Linked DNA regions of Homo sapiens: regions 1, 2, 3 and 4 are each linked to region 5. The links are contacts of gene promoters, found by promoter capture Hi-C in blood cells and fetal thymus (Javierre and others, 2016). All regions are on one chromosome and are shown on one strand. The core of a region is centred on a gene start or on the middle of the fragment in contact, and the rest is flanking DNA. Distances in the headings are between cores, read along the strand shown. Region 1 holds the start of USP30 (ubiquitin specific peptidase 30). Region 2 has its middle 140 kb from the start of WSCD2. Region 3 has its middle 150 kb from the start of WSCD2. Region 4 overlaps UNG (uracil DNA glycosylase). Region 5 holds the start of FICD (FIC domain protein adenylyltransferase).

Region 1 (4,770 bases), core at 260-2,759, 540 kb before region 5:
TTAAGGGTACATACTCTCTGCCAGGCCCTGTGACAATCTTACCTCATTTTTAAAACAACCCCACAGATGCAGGTTCTACTATCACTTTCATTTTTATAGCAGAAGAAACTAAGAGCCCAACTTGGTCACAGTGAGTGAAGGAACATGGCTCTGAATCATGCCTGTCTGTCTCCCCAGGTCTGTGCTTAAAACCACGAAGTTCAAGATGGAAACTGAAGGGAAGAGTGTCAAGGGGATGGGAGAGAGGACTTGTCCATGACTTTGGCAGCATAAGGAAAAAATACCCAGGGACAAGTGGCGACTTTGGAAACTCCATTCCTCTGCAAAATGACATCACGAGGAGAGTGGTGGGGCCTGCGGATGAAAAGATCTGGCTTCTCCTCCCAACTCTGCTATGAGGTCAGCTATGGGGCCACACTTCCTATCTACGGAATGGGGGCACTGGACAGGATAAGTATCGAGGACTTTCAGCCCTGGGATAATAAGCTCTTTAAACCTGCTCCAGTTCCAGAGGAAGCCGACCTGAGCAACAGGTCTCAGTCATTTGGGGTCAGCAGTGGGGGAGGGGGTACTCAGTTCTGAAGCCTGGAGCCCTTGGGAGGGTGAATAAGAGGGAAATGGGGGCCCTGACAGGATTGGGGACCCAGGCAATCGAGGAGTCCTAACAAGAACGGAGGGCTTTAACAGGACCAAGCAACCTTAACAGGTTAAAGGGGCCCTGACCAATTTAGAGACCCTTGCAAAACAAGGGCCTTTACTCACACTAACAACATCAGGGACCCAGACAGAAGTGGCGATCCATATTAGACTAGAGGGCGGGCTAACAGGAATAGGGGGCGGTACTAACAAAACGCGGGGCTCGCAGGCCCGGGGCACTTATAGGACTAGAAGAACCGTGCCAAGGTTGGGGAACCCTGGCAGTCCAGAAACTGATATGATTGGGGGACCCAGAAGGACTGGGGGTATACTAGAAGGATTGAGGGGTCTTGGCAGGCCTAGGAGGCACTGAAAGGACTGAGGGCACTGACAGAATTAGGGGCCTTGACAAGACTGGAGTGCCCCGGGTGTCCTGGGAACAATGACAGGAGGGGGAGGGACTGACAGACCTGGGGAGTGCAGACAGAATTGGTGTTGCCGAAGGACTGGAGCCCGTCAGTCCTCCCACCTACGGGCCCAGGCCTCCAACCCTAAAGGACGCAGAACCTTCCAGAATGCCCGCGCGGGCCCTGGAGACCCCAACTAGGGCATGAAAAAGCCGTCACGGGCCCAAGCTGGGGACCCTGGTCCCGGCCTCTTCGGCAGCCCCGCCCCCCAAAATCTCACCTGACGGCCGCCCCGGTCCGCAGGAAGCGCTGGATGGCCCTGTCGGCCGCGGTCATCGCCGCCTCGGCCCGGGAGCTCAGCATTGCAGCCGCACCGGAGGCCTGAAACCGTCTCCTCCGCTACCGCCGCCGCCGCCGCCGGACCGAGGGATACGACGGTTCCCGAGACAGCGGAACCTGCGGCCGCAGTCCCAGCACCTCGGGGGAACGTAGACCGCAGGACAGCTCCCAGGGGGACCGGAAGTAGCTGCCCCCGGAGAGCAATAGCTGACGGACCACGTCCTTTCTTTCTTTTCCCTTAGCAACAGGCCCCGGCGTCGGTTGCTACGCTGGGCTCAGTTGCCTGGGGCTGCTTGGTTTTCAGATTTGCTTAGGCTCCATTCATAAATACAGATGGCACACTTCTAGGATGGACCCTGGGTCATGATTTGAATTTTTCGATGTGGGGAAGGGAGGCCAACAGCCGAAAGTCGGGTCAGGCCTCTGCTATAATTAGTTATTATTGTGGCCAGAGTGGAAATAGGTCGCAGAGGAAGGAACTTTAATGAGCATGAGGCCCATCTCTGACGATATCAGTAGAGAAATCAACGTCTTTAATAGCCAACAAACTTATTGTTTACTTGGGTGCCAGGTATAGAGCTAAGTATGTTACATTCATTATTTACATTTAATATTCACACCAACTCTAACATTACCCACATTTTACATCCCAGGGAACCCAGGAAATTTGAAGAAATAGTAAGTTTTTTGACGCAGCTTGTAAGTGGTGAAACAGAGATTGGCAGTTCGGTCTGTCTGTCTCCAGAATGGCACTCTCCAACAGAAATATACAGGAGCCACATAGGTAATTTTACATTTTCCAGTAGCCACATTAAAGTGAAAAGCAGGAGGTAGGCCAGACGCCGTGGCTCACGCCTGTAATCCCAGCACTTTGGGAGAACGAGGCTGGTGGATCACCTGAGGTCAAGAGTTCGAGACCAGCTTGGCCAACATGGTGAAACCCCATCTCTACTAAAAATACAAAAATTAGCCGGGCGTGGTGGCAGGCTCCTGTAATTCCAGCTACTCAGGAGGCTGAGGCAGGAGAATTGCTTGAACCGTGGTGGTGGAGGTTGCACTGAGCCAAGATCATGCCACTGCATTCCAGCCTGGGTGACAGAACCAGACTCCATCTCAAAAAAAAAAAAAAAGAGGTCAGGTGCGATGGCTCATACTTGTAATCCCAGCACTTTGGGAGGCCGGGGGGTGGGGGTGGGGGGCACGGATTGCTTGAGGTCAGGAGTTCGAGACCAGCATGGCCAATATGGTGAAACCCCGTCTCTACTAAAAAATACAAAAATCAGCCAGGTGTGGTGGCGCGTGCCTGTAATCCCAGCTACTCGGGAGGCTGAGGCGGGAGAATCGCTAGAACCTGGGAGGCGGAGGCTGCAGTGAGCTGAGATCACACCACTGCACTCCAGCCTGGGCAACAGAGAGAGATTCAGCATCAAAAAAAAAAAAAAAAAAAAAAAAAGCAAGAGGTAAAATTAATTTTAACCATATTTTTTCCTTGACCCAATATGTTCAAAATATTGGGGCAGGTGCAGTGGCTTATGCCTATAATCCCAGCACTTTGGGAGGCCAGGTGAGAGGATGGCTTCAGGCCCAGAGTCCAAGGCCACCTGGGCAACATAGCAAGAACCCATGGCTACCGAAAAACAAAGAAAAGAAAAACAAAATATGTCATTTCTATGTGAAAATTATTGATGAGATAATTTACATTCTTTTTTTTTTGAGATGGAGTCTTGCTCTGCCGCCCAGGCTGCAGTGCAATGGCACGATCTCGCCTCTCAGGTTCAAGCGATTATCCTGCCTCAGCCTCCTGAGTAGCTGGGATTACAGGTGCACACCACCACGCCCGGCTAATTTTTTTGTATTTTTAGTAGAGACGGGGTTTCACCATGTTGGTCAGGCTGCTTGAACTCCTGACCTCGTGATCCATCCGCCTCGGGCTCCCAAAGTGTTGGGATTACAGGTGTGAGCCACCGCGCCCGGCCCATTATTTTTTTGTTTTTTGGTACTAAGTACCTCTCAGTTTGGAGTACCCACTTTTCATGTGCTCAATAGCCCCAAGTGGCCAGCAGCTACCGTATTGGACAGCACAGTTTATAAAGCATTAGAGCCAGCAAGATTTTTCCCTCCCTTTCAATCGCTTTCTCCGACTCCAGACTGAGTAATTGCATTCATGCTGGGGGTGGTGTCGCATACCTGTAGCCCCAACTACAGAAACAAAACAAAAGAAATCAATGCATTAGATCAGTAGTTCTCAAAGTTTTTGTTCTCCGGATCTCTTTGTACGCTTAAAAAGGATTGAGGGATTTTGTTTATATCTAACTGTACTCTGTTAGAAATTAAAATTGAGAATTTTTGTTTCCTTAAAATTGAGGTATATAGGTATATCTTGTTTTTTTGTTGTTGTTGTTTGTTTTTGAGATGGAGGCTCGCTCTGTGGCCCAGGCTGGAGTGCAGTGGCGTGATCTCAGCTCACTGCAAGCTCCGCCTCCCGGGTTCAAGTGATTCTCCTGTCTCAGCCTCCCGAGTAGCTGGGACTACAGGCTCCCGCCACCACGCCCAGTTAATTTTTGTATTTTTAGTAGAGACAGGGTTTCACCATATTGGCCAGGCTGCTCTTGAACTCCTGACCTTGTGATCCACCCACCTTGGCCTCCCAAAGTTCTGGGATTACAGGTGTGAGCCACCGTGCCCCGCCCGGCATATCTTGTTTTATTGCACTTCACTTTATTGTGCTTCGAAGATACTGCATTTTTACAAGTTCAAGGTTTGTGGCTACCTGACTACAGCAAGTCTATTGGCACCATTTTCAACAGCATGTGCTCACTTCGTGTCTCTGTACCACATCCTGGTAATTCTTGTAATATTTCAAACTTTTTTTTTTCTTTTCTTTTTTGCAATAATGCCTCACTCTGTCATGCAGGCTGGAGTGCAGTGGCGCAATCTTGGCTCACTGCAACCTCCACCTCCTGGGGTTCAAGCGATTTTCGTGCCTCAGCCACCCAAATAGCTGGAATTACAGGCACGCGCCACCATGCCTGGCTAATTTTAGCGTTTTTAGTAGAGATGGGGTTCCACTGTGTTGGCCAGGCTGGTTTCGAACTCCTGACCTCAGGAGATATGCTTGCCCTGGCCTCCCAAAGTGCTGGGATTACAGGCGTGAGCCACCGTGCCTGGTCCCAAAGTTTTTCATTATTATTACACCTATTAAGGTGATCTGTGATCAGTGATCCTTAATGTTACTATTGTAATTGTTTTGGGGTGCCACAAACAGCATTCAGGTAAACCAGCCAACTTAATCGGTATTGTGTATGTTCCAAGTGCTCCACTGACTGGCTGTTCCCCCCTCTCTCTCACTCTTCTCAGGTCTCCCTAGCCTGTAAGACACAACAATATT
Region 2 (5,142 bases), core at 821-3,320, 520 kb after region 5:
ATAATTCAATTTAGAAATGGGCAAATGATCTAAATAAACATCTCTCAAAGGAAGACATACAAATGGCCACCGAGTATATGAAAAAAAATGCCAACATCACTTTTCATCAAGGAAATGCAAATCAAAACCACAATGAGATATCATCTTACCCCAGTTAGAATAGCTATTATCAAAAAGACAAAAAATAATAAATGCTGGAGAGGATGCAGAGAAAGGGGAGCTCTTATACATTGTTCGTGGGAAAATAAATTAGTATAGCCATTATAGAAAACAAAAATATGGAGATTCCTCAAAAAACTAAAAGTAGAACTACCATATGATCCAGCAATCCCACTACTGGGTATATATCCAAAGTAAAGGAAATCGGTATGTCAAAGAAATGTCTGCACTCCCATGTTTACTGCTTCATTATTCACAATAGCCAAGGTATAGACTCAACTTAAGTGCCATTAATAGATGACTGGATAATGGAAATGTGATATATACACAATGGAATACTATTCAGACATAAAAAATAATGAAATTCTGTCATTCATAGTAACATGGATAAGCTTGGAGGACATTATGTTAAATGGAATAAACCAGTAACATAAATATAAATACTGCATGTTTTCACTCATACAGAAGCTAAAACAGTTGACTACAGAAAAGTAAAGAGTAGAATAGTGGTTACTGGTGGTGGGGAAGGGTGGAGGGGACCTGGGGAGGTAGCTAAAATTTGTGTAACAAATACAAAACTACAAGCTAGATAGGAGGAATAAGTTCCAATGTTCTATAGCATTGTAGAGTGACTATAATTAAAAGCAATTTATTGTATATTTTCAGATAGCTAGAAGAGCAGATTTCAAATGATCTCAACACAAAGAAATAATAAATGTTTGAGGTGATGAATATCTTAATTCTTTTGATTTGATCATTACTCATTGTATACATGTACTGAAATATCGCACTGTATCCCATAAATACATACAATTATTATGTGTTGATCAAAAATAATAATAAAAGAAAAAAGGCATAAGCTACTCTCTATAGAGGCAGAAAATAAAATGCAATTTTAAGTATTCCAAAGGAAAAAAAATAATAATTACAATAAGAAAGTCCTTCGATAAGAAGCAAACTTGATATATAAACAAGATGCTTAGAGCCATTATGAAGAGAGGATAAATTCTGCTCAGTAAATCTGAAAATATATTGCAAAAGAGAGGGCATTTGGTCTAAGTCTTGAAGGGTGCATAAAAGTTTTCCAGGTGCTAAATGGTGAAAAAGACGTTCCAGACAGAAACAGCAGTATTTTCTAAGGCACATTTTCCAAGTCACATTTGTAAAACTGCTTGGAATGTTTGCATAAGGGTGATGGCCCTGTGGAAGGAGAATATAGGATTCACACCAGCAAATCAACCAGCAAACAGGAACGAGCTCCCTCTAAGTGCCAGGCACCAGGCATACCAGTAGCAAATGTGCTGGACTTAGCTCATAACTTCATGGAGCCTCTACTGCTTGAGGAAGGAACTGCAGGAGATGATTCCCCATACCCTCCAATGGGGATGCTGCCATAACATCTTGCACTTCCTGGGGTAGCATGCATCACTTTCTATAGGATTGTCTGTTGACTGGTCATGCTCTCCAATTAGACTGTGAGTTCCTTAAGAGCCGAATGCTGTGCTGGTTACCTCTTTTATATCCCAGCTCAGTTCCAGGCACACAGTGACCACTCAACAGATTAGTGATTAAGGAAAGAAGGAATGAAAAGTTGATAGGACCAGTTTGTGACTGGCCTGCCTGCCTCCTCAGCCTCTTGAGGGAGAGCTATTACTGTTGCAATAAAATATAATATATTCACTGCAAACATGCAGGATTTTTTTAAAGCAGCAATAATTACATTACCACAACCCAGGATGGAATTAACCACAGCCTTTAACGTGAGTTATTAAAAATGTTTTACTTCTTCCACTGGCACTTAGAAGTCAGCTCTCCTACTGAGCCACTCTCTTCCTTCATTGACTTCTCTTTATCAGGGATGTCAAGATCATTGGCATTTAGAAAGCACATTATGTTAGCTTTTTTCTTTCCAAACACTGCAAAAGAAGTGATTTGACCTTTCATAAGGAAAATGGAACTCCTGAGCTTCCCCTACACAGCAGTCATGTCTGGGATTTCTTATCTCCACGTCAGAAGACCTTCTCACCAGCCTGGCAGGAGTCAGGCTGGAAGATAGATGGGAGTCTTTCTGATACTGTCCCCTTGAGAGAAAGTGCTGAAGGGGAAGGTTTATTAATAGTGGAGACCAGCCCTGCTGAAGGCAACTGTGAGGAGATGGGAGAGTGAGGGGGGAGGCAATGGCCTCTAGGGTCACAGTGAACTCCGCTGACATTTCATTTCTTTGACATCTGTGCTGAGAACCATAGGCTGTTGTCCTGGGGGTTGAAAAGGAGAGGATAGCTACAGTCAGAAAACTAAAATAGAAAAAGTTGACTGACCCAGCAGCCAAAAGGGACACTGAAAATTCCCTTATGGGAAAGAGCAGGTCTTAATAAGTCTCCTGTTTGGCTTAAAAGATAAGAAATAGGTCCATTGCCATCACCTACTCTTAGAGCTCTCTTTTGTGATTACTTTTGCATCTGGTAATAATTAGGAGCAGATGAGTCCTTGGAGTATATTGCCAAAATTACCCCAATTCTTCCTTTCCCTGTGCCCATGGCCCTTGCAATGAGACTCTGCTAGTGCTTCCATCAAGGAATGGAGCCTACTTCCTCACTGCCTGAATCTGGACTGGACCTTGTGACTAGCTTTGGCCAGTAGAACATGGCAGAAGTGATATTATGTCAGTTTCAAGCCTAGACCTCAAGAGACTGTGTATACTTTCATTCTCTCTGGGATACCTTCCCAGCTGCCACATGAAGAGCCTGGGCTAGTCTATGGGAGGATGAGACACGTGTGGACCAGAGTCCATTCAGAACAGTTATCCCAGCTGAGGCCCTCAAACGTGTGACAGCCTAGTCAGGATCAGTAAAGTGGCCTACCCAACATAGCTGAACATAGATGCAAGAATATGCCCAGCCAAGATAATAAGAACCACCTAGCTGAGCCCAGCTTAAATTGTCAATGGCAACATTTTAAGCAAATGAAATGGTTGTTATTTTAAGCCACTAGGTTTTGAGTACATTTTGTTATACAGTGATGCCTAACTGATAACACTCTTATTCTTGTTCAGGCACCCCTACAGGAAAGGAGGGTTTAGTACTTCATTTAGAAGATACCAGAACTCTATGTTAGAATGGAAGTTTCATGAGGGCAAGAGCCATGTTTACCTGGTTCAACCCATTGAGAGAAGCAAGTGATACAGAGCAGGGGATGAATACATCTTGTTGTATTGAGTGTCAAGATTGTGCAGAAAGTTGAGCATCTTCTGAATGTATACTCCAATAACTCATCTGCTCCTAATTGTTACCAGATATAAAAGTAATCACAAAAGGTAGCTCTAAGAGTAGGTAATGGCTGTGGACTTATTTCTTATCTTTCAAGAGTATACCTTCAGGGGAATTTGCCCAACTTACTTCTTCAGGTAATTATCACCCTGGTTCAAGCTTCTGTAAGAATTACTAGCAAGATCAATAGCACTTCTTAAATTTGACTTAAAGAGATGTGTGGCCTGGTGGAGAAGAGCCAGCTAATAGTTACGAACATTTCTGCCACACATACTCCACACCCTACAAAAATGCTCCATCCACTGTCTGCCTAGTTACCCAGGGTCATTCTTAGCAGCCATGCTGCTCCTCTCCCTCACTCAGTCCCCATGTCCTGTTGCTTATGCTCCTTAAATATATCTCAATCTATTCACTTCATGCCACTGCCCTACTTTAGAGTTGAATGACCAGTTCAGCTTCCTAAACTAGTCTCCTAGTTTAGGAGCCCCAGCAGCCAGTGTCATCTTTCCAAAGAACGAGTCTGTTCACTCCTCCCCTGCTAGCCTTCAATGGCTCCCCATTTGCCCTTGGGACCAGGCTCTTCGACAGGTTTTCTTGGTCTGTGTGTGCCCCCTGCTGGCTTTCCTACTTCACCTCTCCCTGTATGTTTTCACCAAAATACACCTGTTAGATCAGGTTTAGCCTAAAGCTGCCTCCTTACATATTTTAAGTTTGTCCTAAAGGTTGCCCTATACTTTGTGAACTATAACCTAAATGGAGTTGTAAACAGACTGTAGTCTACTCTTGTGTCAATCACCGAGTTTTTGGCCAATCAAAGGTGGCCAACTGTTCAAATCGTGTTCAAATAAGGCAGACGCCAAGCTCTAACCAATCTGGCTGTTCCTGTACCTCACTTCAATTTTCTTTACATCACTTTCCTTTTTCTGTCTGTAACTCTTCCACTACCTGGCTGCACTGGAGTCTCTCTGAGCCTCCTCTGGCTCAAGAGGCTGCCCCATTCACAAATCATCCTTTGCTCAATTATACTCTGTTAAATTTAATTCAGCTAAGGTTTTTCTTTTAACACATCTTTCCTGCAATACTGAACTATTTGCAGTTCCCAGGCTTGGGACATTCTTGAGCTGAGGCAGTCTCTCCACTCCCTATTCTACTGCTTGGCTATTTCTTTTCTTTTTACGTCTTCCCTTAGACGGCATAGTTTCCTTCCCTGATCTCAGCTTCCTGCCCATTTCCCTGATCTCAGAGGTGTCACTGTTTTTCTCTTCCTTCCCTCCACCACTAGACAATGAGCTCTGGGAGGCAGGGGCTATTTCTTGCATCTCTGTGTGTATTACAGGCTATGACTTAGGGTAAGTGGTTGAATGAATGAATGAATGAATGAGGCAAGCTAACCAAGAGACTTTGAGCAGCACCTCCTGATAATGAATCAGACTTGAGGGGAATCAGAGAGAGTGCTGGAAGAACAAGTTCCCATTTCCAGGTTAGGTAAAGGAGTAACTATTTCCAGTTACAAGATTTTCTTGGAAGTGGATTAGAAGTGAACAGTAACTAATATCTGTGTCAGGTACAGACATGGAACAAATTCATGAATTGGTCATTCTCAATAGACTTCAGTTGTTAATGGTGAAATTTGCTGAGAATCAATAAGCACCAGTGTTTATTAAACACTTAACTCTGTTCCAGGTACTGCACTAACGGCTTTACACTTAGCTCACTT
Region 3 (4,683 bases), core at 2,133-4,632, 540 kb after region 5:
ATTGGACTCCCATACTGGTGTTTTCAACCAGTCTACAAAGCTGGTTAATGGATTCAAAAATTAATCCACCCTTAACAATTCAGTTGGTTATACGCCTGAGTCCCAAATCAAAAGTAAACCAATTCAAGTAGGGGGGAAGAAAAGCTATCAAACCAGTAAGTTGTCTAATTCGGTCAGTTATTTAACCTGAATTGACAAGTCATTTTATTCAAAATAATTGAGCTGATAATTGTGTATGGAAATGATAGCATGGCTTAATTGCCATGCTTAGCAGCTTTGCTCAATTTTTTTAACTTAAAAAAAGTTGTAGTGTTTCAGAAAGAATTCTCTATGGAATTAGAGTTTTACAGGTGCTGCGCTATGGTCAATGATTGGAAAAAGTGGACTAAGCTATGTTAAAGGGATCATTTTTCTTCAAGAATCACACAGCCTCAAACAAGATCCCATACATTATGAATCTCTCACAGGGCTCGGTGGTGCAAGTATTCCCCAAATCTTGTCCTGGTAGGCCCCGCTTTGGATAGGGACATACAATTCCCAACACATGCAAGGAAATACTGCCACATCTCATCTCTACACTCGGCCTCATTTCACTCCTCCCAGAATCAGAGCAATTTTTTTTTTTTGCTTCTATTAGTCTGCTTCAAATCAGCTCCCAGCTTCCCAGAGCCTCATCTGTAGCACAGCGGACACCAAGAACAGGACAACTGCTCAGGGAACTAGGGAGCACGGACTTCTTTACATTATGTAGACCCAGTCTATCCACTGCTGAGTGGATCAGCTCAAAGAAAGGATTTACAAAGAATACTAGGAAACTAGAACAAAATAAATGCAAGTACACACACACACACACACACACACACACACTTGTACATGCACACCCCCCATAAAGGTTATTGGGTTTCATCCATCAAGATGCCTTTGAACAGAGCTCATAAACATTTAAAAAAATGTTTACGATGGTGAACAATGCACTTTAGTATCTCCTGAATAATTTGTGTTGTCTTGAGCAGCCATTGCAATATTTTCTTATTTTTGTCCTCTCCGCTGCTGCTGACCACTCTGAAAGAAATGAGCTTCCGACTGCATTAATAGCTTTTTCATCTTCCTGCCACTGCTCCCTCTAAATGGCTTGCCGTTATCTATTCATGAAATAAATAACTGGTGCCTTTCATGTCTCCCACACTCTCCTTGTGCTTGGCGAGATTAGGGAAATTAAATCCCTCCAAGGGGCTCTCTAGATTCCTGCATGGCAGGAGAACTTGGCAAAGCTGGCTCTGTGCAAAGTTGAGGGGAAATTAGGTAAGTCTGGACATATCTTTTTGTCACAAGAGAATTTCCACAGGGGCTCCATGGAACATGCTTCAATTTGCAGGTGTGGTGATTGAAGCTCTCAATTAGTTTGGAATCCTTTCCACCAATTTCCTGTGGGTGTTTAGCCACCTTTCTGTGGGAAGCCACATAACATGGCAGTTAAATATTAACATCCCCAGATTAAAAAGAGATATGGATTTAAATCCCAGCTCTGCCACTTACTAGCTGTGCGACCTTAGGCAATTTGCTGTGCCTCTCTGAGCCTCAGCCTCCTTTATTATAAAATAGGGATAATAATTATCCCTACTTCATAAGGTAGTTGTGATCATGCAATGAGTTAATTAATATCATAAGGTGCTTAGAACAATGCCTGATGTGTGATAAGCCCCATGTAAGTACTTACTTTCTTATTCTTCTTCGTATGAATTGAGAATGAATGTAAAGCACTTGGCACATAGTAAGTATTCAATCCATGGCAAACATCATTATTATTACTACTATTACCTACTTTTTTTAAGTTATCAGTGAAGAAGGAAAAATAAATAAAGTATCTTTTAATATGTAGTGAAGCAGTTTATATATATTATCTTATTTAATTCTGATTATTATTAAATAGTAACTCTATCATTATTCTCACTTTATATTTGATAAAATGGATCCAGGGAAGTACAGTGGTGTGTCCATGTTCAGTGCTGGTGGCAGAGGCAAGAGTTGAACCCCGTTTGATCTGATGCCCAAATTTGTCCTCATTCCAGCTAGATGGTCATTACCAGAAGGACAAGGCCTTGCCTGTTTCTAATGTGTCTTTAATAACCAGAAAAAAGCCAGGACCATAGGAGATGCCCACGTGTAAGTCTTAATCAGCTCTCACAACATACCAGGCACTCTTAAGCATGTCCTACATATATCTTCATTTGACTTATGTACCATATAAGCTGGGTACTAGTACTATCCCAATCTTAAAGATGAGGAGATGGATGGATGGATGAAGGAATAAAATGATGGATGGGTGGGTGGGTTCCATTACTCATGTCTTCTGGATTAGATGGATCATAAACTACTTGAAGTTCTTATTAAAATTCAAAATCCTAGGCTCCTTTTAACTCCTGCTCACCCCAGGGATTCTGTTTCAGTAATTCTGGTGGGCTCCATCCTGGAACATACATATAGTCCAATCCTCCCATGAGGTCTGATGAGTTTTATGAGTCGAACAAGTTTCTGGTTCTTGAACAAAAATTTTGGTCCAAGAATGGAAATCAGAAGCAGCTGCTAAGAATACAACCAGCTTCTGTTTTGGTAATTTGAAGAGGAGACTCTAGCAAGTCAGGGCCAAGTTATATGCCCTGTACTCTGTAACTATTATGTCTTCGGTACAACTGAAAGGGAATGGAAAGACAGTTCATTGGCAAAATTTGACACCCACCTGGGAGATGGCATACTGGGGTGGCCTGGAAGTGGCCAGAGTTGGATGTCAAGATACCTGGTTCAACTACATGCTCTGCTCCTTTTTTAGATGTGTGCTTCCCTGAAGCTCAATTTTTCCATCTGCAAAACAGAGGTAATCATTCCTACCTCACTGGGATGTTTTGAAGATAAAATGAGATCATGGATTAAAAAAACAAAAACAAACACTTAGCATAGTACTCATCTAATCATCATCATCATCAGTAGTGATGGATAAGAAATATAGCACACTCAGCAGAAGGTCCAGCTCATCCTCCTACCTGCCAAGAGTCACACTGAGAGCCATCTTAGTTGCTGTCAAGTAAAGGGTGGCTAAAGAAAATATTGTACAGCAAGTAATAGAATTAGCCTCATGAATGTGCCTAAATCCCTGAACCAGAGATGATCAAAGCAGGTAGCCTCTACCCCAGGATGCAAAAGACAGTCCATTAACTGTAAGATATTGTTGAAAGAAACTAAAGAGAACCTAAATAAATGGAAAGATCTCATGTTGATTTATGATTTTTAAGAAGGCAATAATCCTCAAATTGATTTACAGATTAAATGCAATACCTATCAAAATATCAACTGGCTTTTTTTCCTTGCAGAAATTGGCAGGCTGATACTAAGTTTCATATGGAAATGCAAGGAGATTAGAATAGGGAGAATGATCTTAAAAAAGAACAATATTGGAGGACTCACAAGTTCCAATTAAAACTTACTACAAAGCTACAGAGACCAAGACAGGGTAGTAGTAAAATATAGGCATATAGATCAATGGAATAAAATTGAGAATCCAGAAATAAACCTTATATTTTGGCCAAGTGATTGTTTACTGATTGATTAATTGATTGGAATAAGTTCAAGAGATTTATTGTACATAATTGAGGTAGGAGGCGGGACTCAACTGACTCTGGAGGTGGAGCTTGGACTCTGGACCATATTGAAGACTAGCTGAAACAGGGAAGAAGTGAAAGTATCTCTCCAGGTGGGGCACAGTGGCTCACATCTGTAATCCCAGCACTTTGGGAGGGCAAGGCAGGCGGATTACTTGAGCCCAGGAGTTTGAGACCAGCCAGGGAAACATAGCGAAAACCCATCTCTAGAAAAAAATACAAAAATTAGCCAGGTGTGGTGGTGCACACCTGTAGTCCTAGCTACTCAGGAGGCTGAGATGGGAGGATTGCTTGAGCCTGGGAAGTGGAGGCTCAAGTGAGCCGAGTTCGCACCATTACACTCCAGCCTGGACAACATAGTGAGACCCTGTCTCAAAAAAAAAAAAAAAGCACCTCTCCATAAGACATGCCCACCAGTGCCATGTCAGTTTACCATTGCCAGGGCAGCACCTGGAAGTTATCACCCCTGTCCATGGCAACAACCCAGCAATCAGGAAGATACCACTCATTTTCTAGAAATTTCTGCATAATCCACCCCTTAATTTGCATATAATTAAAATGGGTGTAAATGTGACTGCAGACCTGCCTCTGAGCTGCTGCTCTGGGCACACTGCCTATGGGGTAACCCTGCTCCACAAGGAGCAGTCCCTCCGCTGCTGCTGTGCACTGCTGCTTTAATAAAAGTTGCCATCCAACACCACCAGCTCACCCTTGAATTCTTGCCTGGGCAAAGCCAAAAACCTTCCTGGGCTAAGCCCCAGTTTTGGGGCTCACTTGTCCTGCATCATAATGGTGACTATAGTTAATGTACTGTGTACTTGAAAATGGCTGATTGATTTTTGACATGAGTGCCAAGGTCATTCAATGAAAAAACAATAATATTTTCTACAAATAGTGCTGAGACAAATGGATATTCACATGCAAAAGAATGAAATTGATCCCCTACAGTATACTAAACACAAAAGCTAACTCAAAATGTTTTACAGATCTAGACATAAGGGCTAAAACTATACAATTATTAGAAGAAAAC
Region 4 (5,225 bases), core at 1,949-4,448, 580 kb before region 5:
CTCTAGCCTGGGCAACAGAGTGAGACTCGGTCTCAAAAAAAAAAAAAAAAAAAAAATCTAGCAGTCGCTGGCTTACCTTGCTTGGCCCACCCAGATAAATCTCCATGGCCAGGATGAACAAAATCCTCTATGTCTGTAGACAACTCTTTATAAATGTTCTCCAAACTGAAAGCAAGCCACAAGAAAAACAAAAAACAGAATCTTAAGCATAATTTTGAAAGCTCAGTAACGTCTAAGACATATGTGAAAAGGTTAGAAGTTACAGCCAGCCCTTGGAAGGGACACTGGCACATATGGCGCCGATTAATGAGATCAACACTGCCAGTCCTCCTTCTAACAGGTGACTCTGCCAAAGACCTTTACTTTAGTCTGTACTTGGATTTAACAGCACTCTGGAAAACCTAAGTAAATCAACCCAGCAGTTACAACCCAGACCCCCACTGTTGCTCAGGGACAGTTTTCTGTCCTTAGCATATTTATGTATATCATACACCAAATCCTCCAAAAGCAGTGGTTCTTTTTTTTTTTTTTCCAGTCTTGCTGTGTCACCCAGGCTAGAGTGCAGTAGCAGGATCTCGGCTCACTGCCACCTCCGCCTCCCGGGATCCAGCGATTCTCCTGCCTCAGCCTCCCAAAGTGCTGGGATTACAGGCGTGAGTCACCGCGCCCGGCCCAAAGCAGTGGTTCTTAACCAGGGGTGATTTTACGCCCCCAAGGGACTTTTGGCAATGTCTGCACATTTTTCATTATCACGAGCTGGGGGTTGCTCCTGGTTTCCAGTGGTAGAGGCCAGGGATGTGGCACAAGATCCTGCAATAGCACAGGACTCCTCTCCTCCTCCACAACAAAGAATGACTCAGCCCCAAATGTCAATGGTGCTGAGGCCGAGAAATCCTCCTCCAAGGCTAGTGAACAGTGCCCCAGATAGTCCCACTTGTAATAAGCTAAGTACACATCTGAAAGGAATCATGTCTGGACTGCAGTCACCTGTAAAGCAACTGTACCTGGGCGGAGGCGGAACAGGCCTTTGAACACTAAAGCAGAGCCCGTGAGCTTGATTAGGTCCATGATATGGATCCTGTCCCAGGATGACAACCTTCACCTGTGAACCACCAGGGGTCAGGAATTAAACAATACTGTAATGTAAGCAGCACAGACCCTGCCTCAAACAAACATAAACAAAACAAATAAAACACTTCTATGGCATAGATTGCTAATAGCAGAGTTGCTGGTCAAAGGCTAAGCGTATTTTAAACTTGTAAAGATATGTACCTAGCTGCTTTTTTAATTTTTTGAGACACGGTTTTGCTGTGTTGCTCAGGCTGATGTGCAGTGGTGCCATCACAGCTCATGGCAGCCTCGCCCTCCTGGGCTCAAGTGGTCCTCCCACCTGAGCCTCCAGAGTAGCTGGGCCCACAGGAGTGCACCACTATGCCCACCTAATTTTTTTTTTACTTTTTGTAGACACACGGCCTCCCTTATGTTGCTGAGGCTGGTCTCAAATTCCTGAGATCAAGGGATCCTCCCTCCTCGGCCTCCCAAAATGCTGGGATTACAGGCATGAGCCACTGTGCCTAGCCCCCAGTTACTTTTCGATGAATTAAAGCAATTTAGGGCCTGGCATGGTGGCTCACGCCTGTAATCCCAGCACTTTGGGAGGCCGAGGTAGGCAGATCACGAGGTCAAGATATCGAAACCATCTGGCCAACATGGTGAAACCCCATCTCTACTAAAAATACAAAAATTAGCTGGGTGTGGTGGCGCACACCTGTAGTCCCAGCTACTCGGGAGGCTGAGGCAGGAGAATCGCTTGAACCCAGGGGGTGGAGGTTGCAGTAAGCCGAGATTGCACCACTGCACTCCATCTCAAAAAAAAAAAAAAAAAAAAAAAAAAAAAGCAATTCAGATTTCCCACCAGCAGCATATGAGGGTGTCTGCTCCCCTATATCCTCTAACAGGTGGAGCCAGAAGAGAATGAGGTCAGATCAAAAGGGCCATGGGAGTAGGTGGCAAGAGACAATGAAATGAAATGAAGTTCCTGTCACGGGAGGTGTTGAAACATAGGCCGCCTCGTCCTTCCCATCCAGGGCCCACCCACCTAGTCTTCATTCTCAAGCTTCTGCCATTGCGTTCTTAGAATCTTCCTCCACAGCTGACATACTCTATCTTTCAGAATCCAGCTCCAGATGTTCCATGACCAGGAGGCTTTTGGGGACCTCTTGTCCCTCCCCTTGGTGTTCACACCATGCCAACATATTCTCTTGTGAAACAACTCTCCCAATGCTGGTCTGTCAAGAAGCCCTGCTGGCCCATCTGATCCTCATAGGTTTGAAACTGGTTTTTGAGCATTCCCTCAAAATATTCCTTTTAATATTCCCTGTTTATACTGATTACTGGTATTCAGAATAGGGCATTCAAACAAGAAGCAAATTAGTATTGATCTTAATAGGATTTAATTTAGCTTCAAAACCAAAGAGCTAGATTCTAAATTCTTACTCTAAAATTAAGCTTACGAGATTTTCTAAGTATTAGGTGTGGCTGCCTTATCAAGATGATTTATTCACCTATTTCACTTCTATGTCATTTCACAGATATTCATTAAATCACAAGATTCTTGCCCCAGTTTACAAAACGGGGGAGGAAAACGGGTAAGAAACCTAAAAGTCCAGTGTCAGCAGGTGCTAAATGCATCGTAGCAGCTCAGAGGAAAACTGGATCACAGAGGTGGCAGGCAACGGACTTCAATTCAAGGAGGTGCCACAGAGGCATCTACTTGATTTTTAAGAGACAGAAGTGGGGAGGGGTTTGCCACACTGTCCAACTCTGGAGTGGGAGAGTGGGAGGTGGAGGTAAGGCTGAGAGGTAGGACGTGGCCCTATTTAAAGAGGGTTGCTCTGCTTTCATAGTTCAACAGTGAGAAGCCACGGTTTTTTTTTTGTTTTGAGACAGGGTCTGGCTCTGTCGCCCACGCTGGAGTGAAGTGGTGTGATCTCAGCTCACTGCAACCTCCGCCTCCTGGGCTCATGCGATTCTCCCACCTCAGCCTCCCAAGTAGCTGGAATTACAGGCGTGCGCCACCATGCCCGGCTAATTTTTGTATTTTAGGAGAGACCAGGTTTCATTGGTCTTGAACTCCTGACCTCAAATGATCCTCCCACTTTGGCCTCCGAAAGTGCTGGGATTACAGGCATGAGCCACCGTGCCCAGCCCCACGAACTTCTGAACACAAGATGGATGAGAGCCGCCAACCAGCAACTGTTATATAAGACAAACTAAAGCAAAGGGATCTGATAACAGAACCACAAAACTGTTCAGGCCAGAAGTCAAGAGCTTGAAAGTGCTAACTATAAGGCAGTGTGGTCAGGTCAAGGTGGGGTTGACTATAACAAGCTGCAAAAGATTTAACTGCTTTGTGTGTCAGTTTGAACTTCACCACCACCATAACATCTGACACCGCGGGAGGTTAGTTTCAGGATTTAAAAAAAATACAAGAAATAAGAGCACAGGATGTACATAGTTTTCCTTTTTGCCACATAAATACCACGTGGTAAACATTAAAAAGAGTAAATACAGGCTGAAATACAGTCAGCCAAACCTCGGGATTTCAGTGTTTTATTTACTACTGAATGATGGACTGTGGCTTAACTCCAGTGTCCCTAATTTAAAAATACTATTTGACTCCTTCTCCCCAATAAAAATTATCAACAAGTTGTACTTACATCTTTTATGTCACACATCTGGGTCCAGGTGAAGACTTGGTGTGGGGGTGGATAAACAGTGTAATGCTTTCTTTCTTCTGCAACAAATCCCATTAGCTGATTTAAAGATAAACTAGACTTAAAATCAGATTCTCATTGGAAACCATAAGAATTCAATAAGAAAGCTTCTAGTGCAAGTTATTTGGAACATCATTAGTTCTTTGTCATGTTATGTCCAAATTCTTTTAAAAAACAACAAACAAAAACAGTGCCTGCCCCCCCACCTAAGTGGTTCAATCAGGTCAATTCCTTGCCTCTTTCTCTGGGCTGGGTCCTGACAGTGCCACTCCTCTCGGCTTTTTAAAGCTCAAGCCAGGTTTCATTCAGGATGGTTGGTGATTTTACTACGCCAGCCTTTCCTGGACAATAGACTATGTGACTTAAATGAATCCATGATATCATCTCGCGGGTCGTTAACAACTTTAACCAATATAAAGCTGCAGAGTGAAACATCATGGCTTTCTTTTACCCCCTTTGTGAGTAAAGGAGGTTGAAGGGGGTACAACCTAAGCCTACGGAAACATGAACTTGGCCGGCTACACTAACAAGACAAAAGGGCCGGCAGCCTCCACATTTACCCTTATGGAAGGTGCATTTCCATATTTACCTTGATAAAATACGGTTTCCCGAACTCCCCGCTGAGGTGCTTCTTCCAGCTCTCTCCAAAGCCCACGGGCACGTTGCGGGCCGCGAGTCTGAGCAGGGCCGCGGCCTTGTTCCTCTGGATCCGGTCCAACTGCTCGGCACTCAGCGGCGAGGAGGGCGGCGTCCCAGGCTCCTCCTGCCCAGCCGGGGCCTTCTTGGCTGGGATGGCCTGCAAGTGGTCCCCGCAGAGGCGGCTCAAGAGCTGCAGCGGCCCCTTCCCAGGCGTCCGCAGCTTCCGGCCCAACCCCCACGGCCCAAGGCAGAAGACGCCCATTTGTGGAACAGGTCCCAGCAAAAGCGGACAGTAAGAGCCCAGGGCTGGGCCCGGTCCGGGAATTGGGAATTAGGTTCTAAACTGGAGCGGGGAGACGGGCTGGGAGGCGCCCTATGGCTTCCCGAGGAGCGTCGCGGTGACTGGGAACCCTGCACAGAGGTGCCCCGCCCCCGCCAGACCCGCCCCACCGCGTCCCCACGTGGTCTTTTCGCGGCAAAAAACCTCCCTCTGGGTCCCGCCCCCTCTCCCCTCTGATTGGACAGCGCACCGAGCCAGGAGGGCCTGCGGCGCGCGGATTGGCGCCATGGGCCCCGAGACGCGTTCCCATTGGCTGGCCCTTTAGCATGGCGGCCCATGGGGGACAGCGGCGGCTATTTTGAACACGTGGAGGCTATTTGGAAAGCGGAGCCCGGGTTTACCGAGTCAGAGGCGCGATCCTGCACGCCCTCCGTCAGGCGGGGCCCACCGCCTTCCTCCCCCTTCACCCCCTAGCCCCGGCCCAAGCCGCGCCTCACCGCCGCATCTCCGCTTTCCTCAGGCACCCCAGC
Region 5 (4,868 bases), core at 2,353-4,852:
CTCCTCCAGGCTCTTCCCGGGCACGGCGTAGCGGGTCTCCAGGATGTGCCTGATTTCCGAGAGGGTGAGGGTGTTGCCCTCGATGGCCACTGTGTGGTAGATGTGATGGTAGTAGGTCTCCTCCATGACCCTGCGCAGAGCTGAGTTCCCCTTGGGGATGGACATGACCTTCTTCACTTTGCTGTCGATGATGCTGAAATACCTCTGGTCGATCTCTTCCACAAGAGGCAGTGTCCGATCGCGGTTGACCAGTGCTTTCTCATGGTAGGGTGAGATGGTCAATGCTCTGGTGTACAAGTAGTCCGCCTGGATGATGTCCTTGTCTTCTTCCGAGAAGATGCCAAACTCGGTGAGCGCGTCCACGAAGTCCGGGTCCATCTTGAGGGCGTGCATGAAGAGCTTTTGGGCTTTTTCCCGCTTGCCCTGGCGCTTCATCTCCAGGGCCTGGTTCAGGGCAGCTCTGGCTTCCAACTTACCCGCTGGAAGAGAGCCAAAGAAGCGCTGTGAGGGAGGGAGGCTAGGGGGCAGAGGACATTCGGGGGGCTGTCCCCTGTGCTGGTCTCCGCAGGAAACCATGATGACCAGCCTGTGTCCCTGGCCTTGAGGAGCTTGTTGCAGCCGCATCGTGTGTACTCAACATGCCCGGTACCACTCTGTTGCCCCAGCCGTGTGGTGGTATGCAGTCACTATCCGTGTGTCCCCAGAGCCACTCTCTTGTATTCTGGGAGGCACCTCCTTGGCTTCCTAGCCTCCTGCTTTCTGGACATAGAAAGTTCTAGGCATTTACTTCGCCTGGGCCCTCTCTGCTGGGCCTTTCCTGTGGGCCACAGCTCCCAGTGTAGGCCGTCTCCTACATCTCCAGCTCATCTTGTGCTGGTGACACAGGTTCCTGCCCCGGGAGGCCCAAAGGCGTTAACAACTCCCCACTCTTCCTAGACCCTGGGGGCGTCAACCATCCCGGGACTGTTCTTTAACTCTTTTAACCCAGTGGTTTGATTGTGCGCCCCAGGGGACATTTGGTGACGTCTGGAGACCTGGTTAGTTGTCATAACTGAGGAGGTGGAGGGAGTGCTACAGGCATCTCATGGGGAGAGGCCAGGGATGCCACCACCATCTAACAATGCACTTTCAGTCCCCACCACAGAGAACTGGTGGAGGTGGGGAGCCTGCTCTAGCCCTAGCCCTCCTGTCCTGGCCCCTCTTGGCCACCTGAGGATCAGCCCCACACATTCAACTTCCTTTAGTTCCTCGAATGCCCCCAGGCTCTCTTACGACAGTTATGTCAGTTATGACAACTAACCTCTGGTCTCTGCCTGGAGTCCTTTTCCTTGGATGCCCTTCACCCTGGATGACTCCTACTTAACAACTGGGTCCCAGCTCAGGTGTCACTTCCTCCAGGGAGCCTTCCTGGTATGCTCCTACAGCCCTTTATGCTTCCCCATCACCACACTTGTGACACTGTCTCAGTCACATCACCTTGTCTATACTAGGAGCTCAGGGCTGACTTGTTCACAATACCCCGATGCCCCACATACAGGACATGACACATTCTATGTCTGTCTATCCAGTTAACAAGCATTGAGGAAGACGGCCAGTCTGTCTTACCTGGAGAGGCCTTGGTCTTGGCCACCAGCAGCGTCGCGCCCCTGGAGGTGATGCTGAGCTCCGTGGACGGGCTGGTGCACTTGGTGGCGGCATGCTGCGCCCTGTCCGGTTTGCTCCTGAGCAGGTAGAGGCCTTTGAGCACAGCCAAGCACTGCTCCTCCACAGCCCCCAGCGGCAGCAGCAGGGCCAGCAGGGACCCCAGCACCATGCTCAGCAGCGTCACCCAGAGGAAGCGGCTCCAGACCGAGACCCATTTCGGTTCAGTCACCGCCATCACTGAAGCCATTGGTATGAGCATCATCTGGACTCAGGAGAGGGCCCTTTGCGCATGTCCACAGGCGGCTGAGAGAGAGCAGGATCTGCAAGGAGCCAAGAGTCGCAGGAGAAACAGACACGTTCAGGACATAGTGTGACTTCAGCTGGGAAGATGGGTTTGGAGACTTCTGCTCTTTTAGCTCACTAGAGAGATGGGGTGGGGGCAAGTCAAGGACTGGATCTCACTAGAGGAGGGGCCAGCCTAGAAGGACTGGTGCCACCTCCTGGGCAGTATGAATGTGAAAACACTGCTGTGGTCCAACAATTAATGAGCACTTGCCATAATCCAGGCCGTGTGCTAAGCACCAAATGCCTCACATGGGTCACCTCCTGCAATCTTCAACGACTTGAGCTGATGTTTTCACCCTTCTCCAGGTGAGGGAACTGAGGTTCAGAGAGGTGAAGTCCCTTGCCGAAAGTCTCGCCGGGAGCAAGTGACAGCCTTAGGACTTGAACTCAGGAACCCCACGGCTCTAAAGTGTCCCCCCTTCCCATATATCCCTGTGGCTTCTGACCACAAACACTGGATTTGTGGACATATGTCAAACATTTGGGACATAAATGACTGACAGACACCCAGGCAGATCAGCCACAGCAGTTCTGACGCCCAATCTTTGATAAGCACAATTGTTGGGTGGCCTCATTTATTGCCCTCACCCTGATATTCAGCCACAGCTCCCACAGTGCCCTTCCCCTCTCTGGCCTTCCATTTCTGGCCTGTCCAGAAGGGACCCCATCAAGAAGATGAGCAGTTCGAGCATCTCGAAAGGAACTCAGGCTGTGGGCCACAGTGCTTGGCCTCAGTGACAACATGGCTTGTATGTGCTTGGGGCTGGCAGTGGGAGTGGAGGTGGGGCCAGGCATGCAAACACTATGCTAACAATAAGCACTTATTAAGCAACTATGGTGTCCTAGGTGCTGAGCAGTGTACTGGCCACGCATTGCCTCGTTTCACCCTCATGCCACCCTATGAAGGAAGAGCTACCGCTAGCTCCATTTTACAGACAAGGGAAACCAAGACACAGAGAGCATAAGTTAAATTCCAGAAGGCCCACAGGAGGTAAACAGAGGCATCCGGAAGGAAACCCCAGGGCCTCTGAACCCGGTCCCCAGGTCTCGATTTCTACCTTATTACTAAGCAGGGCCTGTGCACCTGCTCTGGGCTGGTCCTGACCCGGGAATGACTGATGGATCACGGGGTTCTGAGTCTCATGGGGATCCTGGCCCATTGCCACAGAACATGTGAAATGGCTTGGGGTGCGCTTTAATAGGGGTGCGCCTGGAGTGCTGCGCGGGTCCAGGGGTCTGGGCGGGCTTCCCGAGGGGACAGGCTCCTGGGCGGGGCGGTACAGGAAAGGGGGCAGTTCGCCGGTGCCAGGGGTGTGTGCAGGGAAGGAGTGCGTTCTGGGAGGCGCGAATCTCTCCCCCACACTTCCCTAGAAAGGGAGAACTGAGGCCCGGAGAGGGGAGGGGACCGGTCTGAGTCCCCTCCAAGACTGCAGAGCCTCCCTTCCCGAACCCCGCCCAGGGCTCGCGGCCCCGTCGCACCCTTCCCGGCTTCATCCTCTCGAGCCCCTAGGGCTTTTCCCCTTCTCACCGCGCGCAGCTGTCAGAACCCCAACCGCCTTCCCCGCGCTCCCAGCTCCGGGCCGCCGGCTCCCGGGTCCTCCTTCTCCGCCGGCCTCTGGCCCCGCCCCCGGCGACTTGCCATTGAACCGCCCGCAGCCCTCGTCGCGGCGGATTGGCTTTCCCCACTTGTCCTTCCCTCGCATTTCCGGGTTCCCGCGTCCGCGTCGGCTTCCCCGGGAAAGACGCGCCGTGGGCCACTCCCATTGGTTGTTGCTTGCGTTTGTCTCGTTCACGTAGCAGCCAATAAGCAGCGGGAGGGGCGGGGCCTAGGCCACAGGCAGGAGGAGCAGGTGCTGGAAACCCGATGGGCGTGCGGATTTGGGGCACACTAGGTGGCGGGCCCGGAAACTGGAAGTTCCACGGCGGTCTTTTCCTCGGGTCTCTTCGTCCCGGAGCCGCTGTCGTGTGCCTCATTTTTCCCGGTTGTGAAATGAAGATGCTGATGCTTTTCACCCCTTCACCCGGTTAGCCTGCTTGACTGCGCAGCCCCTGTTCTTAGCCTCCACCCCATGCTGCTGAGTTTGCCGCCTTCTTCTTCTTTACTCTTTTCCTCTCTGTGTCTTTTCCTCCCTGACTTAAACAACTTTTTTTTTTCTTATAAAATACAGGGTCTCGTTGTGTCGCCCAGGCTGGAGTGCGGTGGAGCAATTGCAGCTCACTGCAGCCTCCACCTCCTGGGCTCAAGCAATCCTCCCATCTCAGCCTCCCGAGTAGCTGGGACTACAGGTGCATGCCACCATGCCCGGCGAATTTTCTTTTCTTTTCTTTTCTTTCTTTCTTTCTTTTTTTTTCTCTCTCTCTGTCTTGCTTTCTTTCTTTTTTTTTGAGACGGAATCGCACTCTGTTGCCCAGGCTGGAGGGAAGTGGCACGATCTTGGCCCACTGCAACCTCCGCCTCCCAGGTTGAAGCGATTCTCCTGCCTCAGCCTCCCGAGTAGCTGGGATTACAGGCGCGCATCACCACGCCCGCCTAATTTGTGTATTTTTAGTAGAGATGGGGTTTCACCACGTTGGCCAGGCTGGTCTCGAACTCCTGACCTCAGAAGATTCGCCTGCCTCGGCCTCCCAAAGTGCTGGGATTACAGGCGTGAGCCATCGCGCCCGACCTATTTCTGATTTTTTATTTTCTTTAGAGACCGGGTCTCACTATGTCGCCCGGGCTGGTCTCGAACTCTTGACCTTAAGCTCTCCCTCCATCTCGGCTTCCCAAAGCGCTAAGATTACAGGCGCAAGCCACCCCCTCGGTTCTCCCTGACTTTTTAATTTGTATCCTCTCCAGAAGGACCTGGCTAGTTCTTTTGGCTTCCCAGAGAGAAATT

What was found. Contacts are between HindIII fragments. The CHiCAGO score rates a contact against its expected background, and 5 or more counts as called.
Region 1: the fragment with the promoter of USP30 here is called in contact with the fragment with the promoter of FICD in region 5 in 14 of 17 cell types (neutrophils, M2 macrophages, monocytes and 11 more); the score reaches 12.9 in neutrophils.
Region 2: a contact is called between a fragment that was not itself captured here and the fragment with the promoter of FICD in region 5, in 8 of 17 cell types (M2 macrophages, M1 macrophages, endothelial precursors and 5 more). The highest score is 16.3, in M2 macrophages.
Region 3: a contact is called between a fragment that was not itself captured here and the fragment with the promoter of FICD in region 5, in 1 of 17 cell types (M2 macrophages). The highest score is 5.9, in M2 macrophages.
Region 4: a contact is called between a fragment that was not itself captured here and the fragment with the promoter of FICD in region 5, in 10 of 17 cell types (neutrophils, fetal thymus, monocytes and 7 more). The highest score is 15.0, in neutrophils.

The regions. Positions count from the first base shown.
Region 1 is chr12:109,049,315-109,054,084 of GRCh38, reverse strand. It overlaps USP30 (ubiquitin specific peptidase 30), which reads right to left and starts at 1,509. Exons shown (of 13, transcript NM_032663.5): 1 at 1,324-1,509. The coding sequence starts at 1,406. It overlaps USP30-AS1 (USP30 antisense RNA 1), which reads left to right and starts at 120. Exons shown (of 2, transcript NR_038996.1): 1 at 120-399; 2 at 1,347-2,044. RefSeq lists enhancers at 113-482, 816-1,315. The HindIII fragment of the contact is 28,323 bases long and covers 1-4,770 here.
Region 2 is chr12:107,989,398-107,994,539 of GRCh38, reverse strand. No RefSeq gene overlaps it. Among named protein-coding and RNA genes, the nearest start is that of WSCD2, 140 kb to the left of the region's middle. The HindIII fragment of the contact is 3,033 bases long and covers 554-3,586 here.
Region 3 is chr12:107,974,860-107,979,542 of GRCh38, reverse strand. No RefSeq gene overlaps it. Among named protein-coding and RNA genes, the nearest start is that of WSCD2, 150 kb to the left of the region's middle. The HindIII fragment of the contact is 6,913 bases long and covers 1-4,683 here.
Region 4 is chr12:109,097,779-109,103,003 of GRCh38, reverse strand. It overlaps UNG (uracil DNA glycosylase), which reads right to left. Exons shown (of 7, transcript NM_080911.3): 1 at 5,193-5,225; 2 at 4,366-4,572; 3 at 3,720-3,815; 4 at 1,005-1,102; 5 at 77-165. Among named protein-coding and RNA genes, the nearest start is that of UNG, 2.8 kb to the right of the region's middle. RefSeq lists a silencer at 4,839-5,225. The HindIII fragment of the contact is 1,375 bases long and covers 2,511-3,885 here.
Region 5 is chr12:108,514,011-108,518,878 of GRCh38, reverse strand. FICD (FIC domain protein adenylyltransferase) reads right to left here and starts at 3,602. Exons shown (of 3, transcript NM_007076.3): 1 at 3,518-3,602; 2 at 1,606-1,964; 3 at 1-479. The coding sequence starts at 1,906. RefSeq lists enhancers at 1,167-1,667, 1,880-1,979, 1,668-2,168, 4,071-4,130. The HindIII fragment of the contact is 9,938 bases long and covers 1-4,868 here.